Linked DNA regions of Homo sapiens: all the other regions are linked to region 2. Evidence: promoter capture Hi-C in 16 types of primary human blood cells and fetal thymus (Javierre and others, 2016). All regions are on one chromosome and are shown on one strand. Each heading gives the region's core, a stretch centred on a gene start or on the middle of the fragment in contact. The rest is flanking DNA. Distances are from core to core; before and after follow the strand shown. Region 1 overlaps MYLK-AS1 (MYLK antisense RNA 1). Region 2 holds the start of FAM162A (family with sequence similarity 162 member A). Region 3 overlaps HACD2 (3-hydroxyacyl-CoA dehydratase 2). Region 4 holds the start of NDUFB4 (NADH:ubiquinone oxidoreductase subunit B4).

The links. The method cuts DNA at HindIII sites, captures the fragments that hold promoters and counts their contacts. A CHiCAGO score of 5 or more calls a contact.
Region 1: a contact is called between a fragment that was not itself captured here and the fragment with the promoter of FAM162A in region 2, in 2 of 17 cell types (naive CD8 T cells and non-activated CD4 T cells). The highest score is 6.4, in naive CD8 T cells.
Region 3: a fragment that was not itself captured here is called in contact with the fragment with the promoter of FAM162A in region 2 in 7 of 17 cell types (non-activated CD4 T cells, naive CD4 T cells, activated CD4 T cells and 4 more); the score reaches 10.0 in non-activated CD4 T cells.
Region 4: the fragment with the promoter of NDUFB4 here is called in contact with the fragment with the promoter of FAM162A in region 2 in 2 of 17 cell types (total CD8 T cells and fetal thymus); the score reaches 7.3 in total CD8 T cells.

Annotation. Positions count from the first base shown.
Region 1 is chr3:123,595,292-123,597,991 of GRCh38, reverse strand. All of the region lies in intron 2 of MYLK-AS1 (MYLK antisense RNA 1), which reads right to left. Among named protein-coding and RNA genes, the nearest start is that of MYLK-AS1, 11 kb to the right of the region's middle. The HindIII fragment of the contact is 1,640 bases long and covers 578-2,217 here.
Region 2 is chr3:122,382,716-122,385,518 of GRCh38, reverse strand. It overlaps FAM162A (family with sequence similarity 162 member A), which reads right to left and starts at 1,337. Exons shown (of 5, transcript NM_014367.4): 1 at 1,220-1,337. The coding sequence starts at 1,253. It overlaps MIX23 (mitochondrial matrix import factor 23), which reads left to right and starts at 2,288. Exons shown (of 5, transcript NM_001017928.4): 1 at 2,288-2,345. The coding sequence starts at 2,295. RefSeq lists enhancers at 1,153-1,202, 1,026-1,526 and a silencer at 1,293-1,442. The HindIII fragment of the contact is 2,247 bases long and covers 558-2,803 here.
Region 3 is chr3:123,577,564-123,580,263 of GRCh38, reverse strand. The region is part of intron 2 of HACD2 (3-hydroxyacyl-CoA dehydratase 2); the gene reads left to right. Among named protein-coding and RNA genes, the nearest start is that of HACD2, 6.1 kb to the left of the region's middle. The HindIII fragment of the contact is 5,964 bases long and covers 1-2,700 here.
Region 4 is chr3:120,594,965-120,597,664 of GRCh38, reverse strand. NDUFB4 (NADH:ubiquinone oxidoreductase subunit B4) reads right to left here and starts at 1,329. Exons shown (of 3, transcript NM_004547.6): 1 at 1,126-1,329. The coding sequence starts at 1,305. RefSeq lists an enhancer at 919-1,258. The HindIII fragment of the contact is 1,375 bases long and covers 472-1,846 here.

The sequences.
Region 1 (2,700 bases), core at 148-2,647, 1.2 Mb before region 2:
AAATAAAAACTTTTTCAAACTGAGAAAAAAAATTGACAGTTGCATCTAATGCCCTTCACATACAGTCAATGTTAGAAGAAGATTTACCCTGAACATCTCACTTTTCTGCATGGCTCAGGTCCTCTGATCGAAGGCAATTGCAAACAATTCAAGAATACTTATATAAGGAGACATCTCAGGATAGTAAAGCGTAGACATGTTTACCTCCCTGGAGATGGTCCAGGATAGTAAAGATAAAGAACTCTTCTTCCTCCCTTCCTGGACAAGACTTGCTTACATTCCAGAGTAAACTAAGGTTTCTCTCTCTCTGGAGAGGATGATGGGCAGGTCTCTGGCAGTTATATAGAAGATCAGAGTTTCCTAATTTTTACAGGGCTCCTGTCCTGTAATGCACCCCGCTGCATGTGCAGGTACCATCTCGCCCTCATGATGACCCTTGGAAACCAACATAGGATGTTGCTTGGGCTGCTGCTTTTGCTACAAATGATTAATTGTTTTTGTTTTTGACTCAGAAGCCTCATTTAAAAGTAAGTTTCTGCAAAACCATTTTTAATGGCTGAATATACTATTTTAAGCTTCCATCATAATTTAGTCAGTCTATACTGCTGGACATTTAGATTGTTTCCAACAGTTTGGAAATATTCTTATTGTAAATAGCATTGTGATGAATGAACTTTTATAACTAAATCTTTTTTCACATCCTAAATTCTTTCTTTAGGATAAATTCCAATGGCTGGGTGCAGTGGCGTGTGCCTGTAGTCCCAGTTATCGGAAGGCTGAGGTGAGAGAATCACTTGAGCCCAGGAGTTTGAAGCCAACTTGGGCAATAGAGCAATATCCTATCTCTAAAACAGATAAAAATAAAAAAGTTCCAAGAAGTGTAATTGTTGGGTCAAAGGACACGCATAATTTTAAAGTTTCAGTATATATTTATGTATTTCCAAGCTGTCTTCCAGAAAGTCTATCAATTTATACTTTCAATAGCAAAGTGTAAGAGCACAACTGTTCTTATACGCCTGCCAACAGGGTTACTGACATTTTGAGTAAGAAAAGAAAAAGAAGAAGACATCTATCTCATTGTTTTAATCAGTGTTTATTCATAAACGTGATTGAACTTCATTAGTGTGTTCATTAACTATTTGTAGGGAGACTATGGCCTGCAGCTGATCACAGCATCATCAAATACTAAGGCAACTATCACACAGCCTCTCACATGTGTCTCTTCTCTCCCCACATCTGCTGAGGGCTCAGTTCTTCCAAGTTCAGATTCTCAAAGAGATGAATCTGATATAGCCATTTCATATTAGGTTGTATCACCAGCCAGTCTAAGGCACCGCTAACTGGAAGTTTAGGGTGGAATTTAGAGTCTGATTCCTATCACCCATCCCTCTTTTCCTCCAGGGTTTTGCATGACAGAAAAACTAGATCACCAGCCAAACAAGAATCCAAATGTCAGCTGTCTTTTTTTTTTTTTGAGATGGGATCTTGCTCTGTTGCCTGCCCAGGTTGGAGTGCTGTGGTGCTATCACCATCCACTGCAACTTCAATCTCCCCAGCTCAAGCCATCCTCCTGCCTCAGCCTCTCAAGTAGCTGGGACTATAGACATGCACCACTACATCCAGCTAATATTTCTATGTTTTGTAGAGGCAAAGTCTTACTATGTTGCCCAGGCTGGCCTCAAACTTCTGAGCTCATGTGATCCTCCTGCCTTGGCCTCCCAAAGTGCTAGGATTACACCATGCCCGGCCCAAATGTCAGTTGTCTTCGTGGTTGGTCAGGCACCCAAAAACATACCCTTGAAGAGTTCTCTGATGCTGGCCAGTTTGGAGACAGCAGCAGGGTCACATCTCACCTTCCTGAATTGAAGATAGCTTCCTGGCCTGGCAGGACTGATCAGAATTCCACCCCAGTTCCCACTGCCAATCACAGGCAGAAAAACTAGAAAAGAGAAAGAGTGGTGCACTGCAAAGCAGAAGGAAGAGAAAGCCTGGCTGCCTTTCAGTTCAGTGACTGTGCAGAATCCCTTGTCTCCAAGTAAAAGCATGGCCCTGTGAATTTCACAGATCTTAACTGATCCTATTAATCTTTTCTCCTCGCTGTGAATAGGCAGAAGCCAGATATGTTTATTTCTAATATTCCTTGTGATAGGAGTTTTTCATTTTTGGCCTCCTAGTATCTAACACTTCCTATTTGGAAAAAAATCCAATAAAGAAGCTTAAGTATGGACAAATAGCCCCTTTTCCAGATCCCTTGTCTCTAGAATTTGGGCACAGGACCTTCCAATCAGACACTCCTACCTAAGACCTTGATTCTGGAGTAACAGAAAGAAGCAAATGGCACTTAGAATCTTTCCAGAGGTGGAAGAGGAAGCAATAAGGGTACTGTCCAACGTCTGATGGTGGTTGTGCCAATGACAGACGCAGTTGGATACTAACCAGATGCTTCCTGTGTATTGATTTGGTCTCTATTTCGGGCTGCCTAATTTCCCATGGCTCCTTTCCAAGTTCCAAGCCTCATTCTTCAGCTTTTCCATCAATTTTGTGAGCTATGTAATGTCCTTTCAATAAATTCATTTTCTCTCTAACTAACCGAGAGTTAGTCTCCATTATTTAGGAACCTCGAAATTTGGTTAGTACATATGTCTTTTTGTACCTTTTCTATGAAGACAAAAAGATAAGAAAGAGGGGTGCCCACCTCCA
Region 2 (2,803 bases), core at 88-2,587:
GCAGTCCATTTTAACTTTTTTACAGAGCAATGATCCTTTCACTTGCCTTGTTGAAAAGCTTCATAATGTTAATAGGATGTACAGAAGATATTTTAGGTGAATTAGTTCAACAAAACTGACAAAATCAATGAAATCATAGTATTGAGGATTTTAGTGGAAGAAGTGTTTGCTTTTAAAGGAAGTAAATATAATAATACTCTCTAGTTTGAGACATGTTTTCCAGTCCATTCTCTACCGGAACACTAGATAAGCTGTGTAAAGGATAATCTTGAGGTGGGGAAGGTTATGTATCAAACTTGTGAAACTATGCAACATTCACTCTTTTTTTTTGCATTACTTCATTTACATTACAATATATATTTATATTATTTGAATAGCCAAGTTTGGGGCTATTTTTCCTTTAAAAATTTAATTAACAACTTTTTAATAATGTAGTGTGTGCCATTGAACAAAAGATCTCTGGTACCCAGAAAAGAGTCAAAATGCAAGCCCTCTGATTTCTCAACCCCTACTATGCCAAGGCTCTGCTGGTTCTCCCAAAAAAAAAGAATTAAGCTTTCATTACCTAAGTCCAAAATAGTCATCACACAAATGTCTACCACCAAAACAAACTGCAGATCCTTCAATTACACACTTCCTCCAAGAAATTCGAATCAATTAATTGTATAAGTGTTTAAAAGTAATGTATCCTCCATTTTAAGAAAACAATTATTATTAATCTCTAAGACCTAAATCCTTGGCCTAATCAGACATTTAATGAGTGGGGAAACTTCAGACTGGAGGTTTTCTGGGATAAACTCCAGAGAGGAAGGAGCAGGGGGAAGAGGGAAGACTCAAGGAGAGCAATAGATAGGGGAGGTTAGGGTGGAAAGCTGAATGCATGGGTAAAGGGGAGGTCTAGGGATAGTAGGTGCTTTACAGACTGAGCTCAGGGGAGGCTGAGGACGGGGGTGGGGAGAAGGGTAGGCGCGTGGGCAGTTAAGTTGGTGGGAGCTGGGTGGATGGAGATGAGGGTAATTCACGGGCAGTCTCCAATGCCTATCAGCAGCTGCTCACCTAGTTCCCTCCCACATGGCTACTAAGTAGGTAGGATTCTGAGGAACCGAGAAAGTGCGTCATGGAATGGAGCCACTCCGGGGCCCAGGAAGGCTTCAGGATTCCCCCACCCGCAGCGGCCGGGCCAGCTCCCCTACCTCCCATATCCCGACCGGCGTCTCACCTGCTGCCAGGCGCAGACCGCTGAGGCTCCCCATGGCCACTTGCTACTCCGCCGACCAGCGCAGAACTTCGCCGGGGACGGTGGCGCTGGTGAGCTCAATGTCACCCAGCGTTGGAGTGGGAAGGACGCAGGCGGCGCCGGGGGGCGGGGCGTGCGCGACGCGGTGTACAGGCCTGCGCCAGTGCGGGGCGTGTAGGACGTGCGCCACGCGCTGGAGACCCGCGGCGCCAGCCTAGTGCCCCTGGCGCCGCATCCTGAGCCAGCCTCGGAGATGGTCCTGTGGAGTGTGGCGCCGTGGGCCCTTGCCCTAGCGGATATGTACCCATGGGAGTACCTGTGTGAAATAGAAAGGAAATGTGCAACTTTCGTGATCTGTAAACTCCCGAAATACACCAGATAAACCAGTATTCCAGTATGCCGCTCTTCCAGTGTTTTCAATGAACATATGCTTTTATCAGAAAACACATAATTGGACTCTGCTCAGTGGCCCTATCTCTTGTTGGAGCATCCCTCAGGCTAATCTGAGAAATTAACATGTATGTTTTCAATTTGTTTTCTATTTACCTATTTTCTAAAAACATTTGATCATCTCCATCCTAAACACTTTACTCATACCCACCCACACTGCCAGAAATGCCGTTTTTTCTTGACGTTTCTTAGTGGTCCCAAATTCTTAACAAAGACCCCCCTGCTCCAGGGTCCGGGGAGGAGGTTAGGCACTGGAGTGAGAGGTATTAGAAAGGCCTCACTTGCCTAGATTTCCTTCAACGACCTGGTAGGGGAACCACAAGGAAATTGTTTCCCTTTTGTGAAAAGATGGGATTGGAGTAAACAGTCCCTTCAAGGTCTGACAATCTTTGATCCATGTATCTGGCCCAGTTCCAGGAGGACATGTTAAAAGGGTTGGGACAGCAGGGTGACAGGTTCCGAGGTGGATGCGGACCACGTTGAACTCAAGCCTTGCACTCAGCTTTCCTAAGGATTCCCCTCGTACTATATTTTTTGTCAGGCGACTCCGCGGTCACCTTTGCTCCGCGGTGATTGGCCTGCAGCGGGGTCCTCGTGTTTGTCCAATATGGCGGCGCCCAGTGGCGGTGTGAACTGTGAGGAGTTCGCCGAGTTCCAGGTGATGGGGTTTTCCTCATGTGGCAGGCATGTGCCTCCTTTTGTCCCCAGACCCTATTCCCTGCTTTGCGAGGGAGTATGAACCAGCTTTGGAAAAAGCGGGCAATTCAAAGCTCTTTTCTCGAGCCATTGGAGGTCATGGGGGGCGCGGGTTTGGCCTTAGGGAGCGAGGCTGCTCTGTAGGAGGAGGGAGGAGGGGGGTCATAGTTCTCTCCGCGGCTCTCCGGCCTTGTCTGGGAAGCTCTGGGTAATCTGCTGTGGTAAAGCTCGGGATGCGTGGATAAGGATTGTAACAATCTTGTAGCAGTTCCCTGAACTCAGTTTCCAGCTTCTGCCATTCCTCTCCTACTTTTGTAAGTAGAGTTTTTGTGGGAGAGAAGAAGGTGCAGAAGAGCTATTTAGTTGATAAAACATACTTGGTGCAATTTACTATTTTTGTGGGACAGGACGTATGGAAGC
Region 3 (2,700 bases), core at 32-2,531, 1.2 Mb before region 2:
TCTAGATCAGAAAGTTATCCATTTTGCTTTTGTTTTTTTCTCTTAGAAGGCAGAGGAATTTCTTTTTTTCTTTCTTTCTTTTTTCTTTTTTTTTTTTGACACAGGGCCTTACTCTGTTGCCCAGGCAGGAGTGCAGTGGTGGGATCTCGGCTCACTGCAACACAGAGGAATTTCAATAGTGTCCAAACTTAGGCATTTTAAGTAGGTGGTATGATGAAATGAGCTTCCAGCTGGAAGCCTGAGTACCTTTTTATTTTAAGTATAATAGTTTTCCCAACTGACTCTATAGATTTGGGCAAGTCTTTTCTCTCGTATCCACCTCCTTTTCATTTGTAAATAATTAGGTTAAAGTAGATTTCTAAAGTCCCTTACTACCCTAAATTTGAGTGTGAGGAAATTTTAACAAATCCTAATGTGAACCATTTTTTAAACTTAGAGGCTTGAACTTTTTTTGGAAGCGGACACTAGTAAATAAGTAGTACTTTCTCTTTCAGAACCTTGGCCAGTACAGTTCCCACAAGCTACAGAGAAGCAAATTTGGAGTCAAGACCATCAGACTTCCAGTACTTGATATAGTAGGGGGTTGTCCCCATTTGGAATACTTCAATAATTTAAAGGGGTTTCTATCTCTTTAAGACATCATAATATTAGAGCTGAGCACAGTGGCTCATGCTTATAGTCCCAGCAATCCCAGAGCTTTGGGAGGCCAAGGCAGGAGGATCACTTGAGGGCAAGAGTTCGAGACCAGCTTGAGCAACATAGCAAGACCTCATCTCTACAAAAAAAAAATTTTTTTTTTTTTAGCTGGGCTGGGTGGTGGGTACCTGTAGTCCCAGCTACTTGGGAGGCTGAAATGGGAGGCTTGAGCTTGAACCCAGGAGTTTGAGGCTGCAGCGAACTATGATTGCATCACTGCAATCCAGCCTGGATGACAGAGTGAGACCTTGTCTCAAAAAAAAAAAAACTTGGTAATGTTAGAAGTATAATTTTTAAAATTTAAGTATATCTTATGGAAGGTAGGGACATTAAACAGTGTCATACTTTAAAATCCACTCAGGAACCAAGTCTTAGACTTTGAAGGATTAGCCTGTTTATCCTTATAGAATTTTTAATAGGGATTTAGGAAAATATCTTGGATTTTTGGTTTTATCTCTGTTATCCCCACTAAGAACCAATTAAGTGACAAATCCTGGATTTGATTTTGGGAAAATGTCTGTGCATAAGGAAGTGAAGACTCCCAGGAACATGCAGGCAATTAACGTTGCAAAGGTCAGTGATGGAAGTAATCCCTTGGACTGGGCGATAGAGCAGGCTTGCTAAAACCACAATTTCTGTGGTTGAGGAGTTTTTCATTGCCTACCCCATCTACACTGTGTAATAATTAGATGTGTGTGGTATTGTTTAATTACACATAAGTTATCCTGATGGGAATTATTAGTGTTGACATATATCCTGTTTACAGGAGGAGAAAATGAATCCAGGGAAGGCAGCTACTCATTTATATCTCTTTATGCTAAATGTTATTCTTTATTAGGTTCTGTGGGAGTTTACTTAAAAAGGAAATCGAAATTACTTGTTCTCCAATTTCACATCTTCTTAAGAAAATAATAACACTTTGCTTTTTAAAAGACATAAAAACATTTACCAAGCAAGTACAAAGGAGCATGTAGTAGCAAGGTACAAAAGGAAGCCTGGCTGAGTACCATGGCTCACACCTGTAATCCCAGCACTTTAGGAGGCTGACATGGGGGGATTGCTTGAGGCCAGAAATTCAAGACCATCCTGGGAAACATAGCGAGACCCCATCTCTACAAAAAATTAAAAAATTGGCCAGGCATGGTAGCACATGCCTGTAGTCCCAGCTAATCAGGAGACTGAGGTGGGAGGATCACTTGTGCCCAGGAGTTCAAGGCTACAGTGAGCCATGATCGTGCCACTGCACTCCAGCCTGGGTGACAGAGCAAGACCCCATTTCCAAAAAAAAAAGTATCTATAAATAAAATGCTACTCATGGATAAAATGTGGTCTATGGATATAAACATTCATAAAATTAATAAAGGCAAATGAATTACTGATATATGCCTGGATAAATCTTGAAAAAATGCATGTGAAAGGAGGCAGATACAAAAAGTCACAAATAGTATGATTTCATTTATAAGAAATATCCAGAATAGGCAAATCCATAGTGACAGAAAGTAGAGGAATTGTTAGGGGCTGTGGGGAGAGAGAGTGGGGTGTGACTGCTAATGGTACAGGATTTCCTTTTAAGGTGATGATATTGTTCTTGAAATAGTGGTGGTGGGTGCACAACTCTGTGAACATATTAAAAACCACTAGATTGTACAGTTTAAAATTGTGAATTTTGTGGCATGTGAATTATATGTCAGTTTTTAAAAAACGAGTTCCTCTGTAATGAGTTGTGGGTGTTTTCTACTTTATTCATTTTTGGAGTCCATGATATTCATTGATGAGGCAGATGTTATCTTTGCATATTTGTCAAGTATAGTTAGATTAAAAATTAGTGGACTAATGCAGTTATGGCAGTTTAAAATTATGTTTGAGAGAATTTGGGTTTCTAAATATCTTTGGTTAACATAAGACTGTAATTATAGCAAAGACACTTTCTTTTTTTTTTTTTTTTTTGAGACAGAGTCTCACTCCATCGCCCAGGCTGGAGTGCAGTGGCGCGATCTCGGCTCA
Region 4 (2,700 bases), core at 80-2,579, 1.8 Mb after region 2:
GACCTACTTGTCCTTCCCATGTTGTCTTCTCATCTGTAAAATGGGGACAGTAGTAGAGCTTAATCATCCAAATAGTTGTGATATGTAAATAGTACTCAAAAAGAGTTTTAGCACAGTGCCTGGCACATTGTAACTTTCATTCAATCCTCATAACTTCCAAAAATTCCAAAACACCAATGCAACGTGTGGGAAAAGTCCAGTCCTGTTCTGTTAACATCATATTTAACCTACTTAGTTCCTGTATAGAAAACTACCTAATGAAAGCACACCTGTTAATTACCAGTTTACTGGGCATATATTATGTGCTGCGAATGTTACACAGACTGTCTTATTTAACCTCATAATGCACATCATTTATATACGAAACCAGGAAACTATAATTCAGAGGAGTTGAAGTTGCCCAAGGTAACAGAGTTAGCCAATGAGTAGTGCTTTGGGTTCTGACTCCAAAGCCTAGAACTTCAGCAAGCTTCAGGGTCTTTAAAAGATGCAGGTTGAAGGAATCACTGTATTCCCATCAGGAGAGAGCAGTATCCCTATGAGCTGTGAACTGAAAGGTAAACACCAGCTCTTTAAAATTATATATATATATAAAATATATATGCATATATATAGAATATAATATATATGCATATATATAAAATATATATGCATATATATAGAATATAATATATATGCATATATATAGAATATATATATAATATAATATATATATGCATATATATAGAAACATTTTCTGAACACGCCTTACGAACGAGGCACTGTGCTAGGACAGTCACATACTCTATCTCATTTAATCCTAACAGCCTGATAAAAGAGTAAGCACTATATTACGCCCATTTTGCAGACAGAAAATCGAGGATAAGCAGAGTGAATAACGTTCTTAAGGTCACGCAGGCAGGAAGTGATCAAGCCAGGATTCAAACCCAGCCAGGTCTGAGTCCAGAGCCGGTCCTCTCGAGGGCCAAGCTCTGGCAAAGGTAAAAGGGTAGTGAGTTGGCTAGGCCTGGAAGAGGACCTGCGTCTGAGATACTGATCGGGAGCGGTGGCCGACCCTTTGCGTGGTCTCTCTCGGTCTCTCCCAGGACTCGGGCCCTATTCCCGCCTGGGAGGCCCCACACTCACGATGAGCCCTCGGCGGTTGGGATCGTTGTACTGAAGCAGGTACTCTCGTTTCAGCTGGGCTCTTATGGCCAACCGCTCGGCTTGCGCCCGCCGGGTTTCCGGAGATATGTTGTATTCGGCTGGGTCGAGGGTCTCAGGCAGAGTGCGCAGGCTCGACGGCTTATACTTTGGGAACGACATCTTGGCGAACCAGGGCACAATTGCGCCTGCGCGATTCTGAGGCCCTTTGTCTATGCTGACCTTCAGCTTCAGGAAGTGCGCCTGCGCGTTAGCAGAGGTTGGGGATGTCGTTAACAAGGAGCTCCGCCTCTTTCTCCTACCTTCCCGAACACGGCGCGTTCGCTCGGTGATATGCGCATGCGCGAAGTGCTCTTCTCGCAGTGCGCCCTGCCCCACCGCCGCTCCCCACCTACTCATCTGTCACCGCGCTGCTTCTTCCTAGCAGCCTTGTCTCTACTGACATAACCAGGGCTTATTATGTAAAGTTGAGCTGTGTGGGACTGGCTGTGGAGTCAGAAGTCCGGGTTTTCATTGTGGGTCTAACCGTGCTGTGTCACCTTGGATAAGTCACTTAAAGTCTCTGAGTTTCCTTTTCCTTATCCTGGAGATAATGACTCCTGTCCACCTAGCAAAGTTGTTGTGAGGATTAAATAAGCTAACAAATAGATCACAAAGTGCTTTGCAAAACAGAATTCCCTACCCAAGAAGAAGAGAATAAGCTTTTCTGTACTTTACCATGCTAGATTCATACAACATTAAGTGTAAGCTTATTTTTCACAGGTACGAAATAATGATTAATAGGAAAAATGATGTTATAAGAGAAATGTTGCCTGACTGACTATAGAAGGTCAGGAAGAAAATGAGATACTGAATAAAGCTCATGAGAAAACATCTTAGTTAAAATACTAAAACCTCTTGCCTAAAATCCTTAGCACTCTTCAGATGCAAAGAATTAAAAACATCCTTACAGGTATGAAAATACTCATAGGGGCATGTATCTTATTGTAAAAGACGATCTGGGGCGAAAACTGAAGTAATCAGAAACAAAACCTTCTCTGTCCCTACTGTCCTTCCTTCTCCCCAGTTACCAAGGAGAAAAACAACTTCAAGTTTCACAGCAGGGTCTTTGGGTTCCCCTTCTCCTCAGGGGAAAAAATGTAAACAATATTTCCATAACTCGGGCAAAGAAGGATGGATCAAAAGAGAGCCCCAGCTTGGCTGAAACGTCTGGGGGCGCGTAGGTATGTTGGGAAATGGTTGCTAGAAAAGGGACCTAGAAAGTGTTGGCATTTGAAATGATGAGAAGCAGCACTGCTGTCAAATTTATTCAACATTTTAATACTGTTTTAAAATATTTATTAAGCACCCACCGCGTGAAGCACACAGCACACTAGTCAGTGTTAAGTCAATCTTCTAGGCTCAGTGGGGGAAATCCAGACAAAATGGAAGATGGGGTGTTTGCCTTTCGGGAGCTGACAATCAGGCAGTACAGAAAGAATAGGCAGAAATGGTAATATTTCAAAGTAGTCTAATGTCCAGATGAATATAGAGCAAAATGGACTCATGAGGATTCAG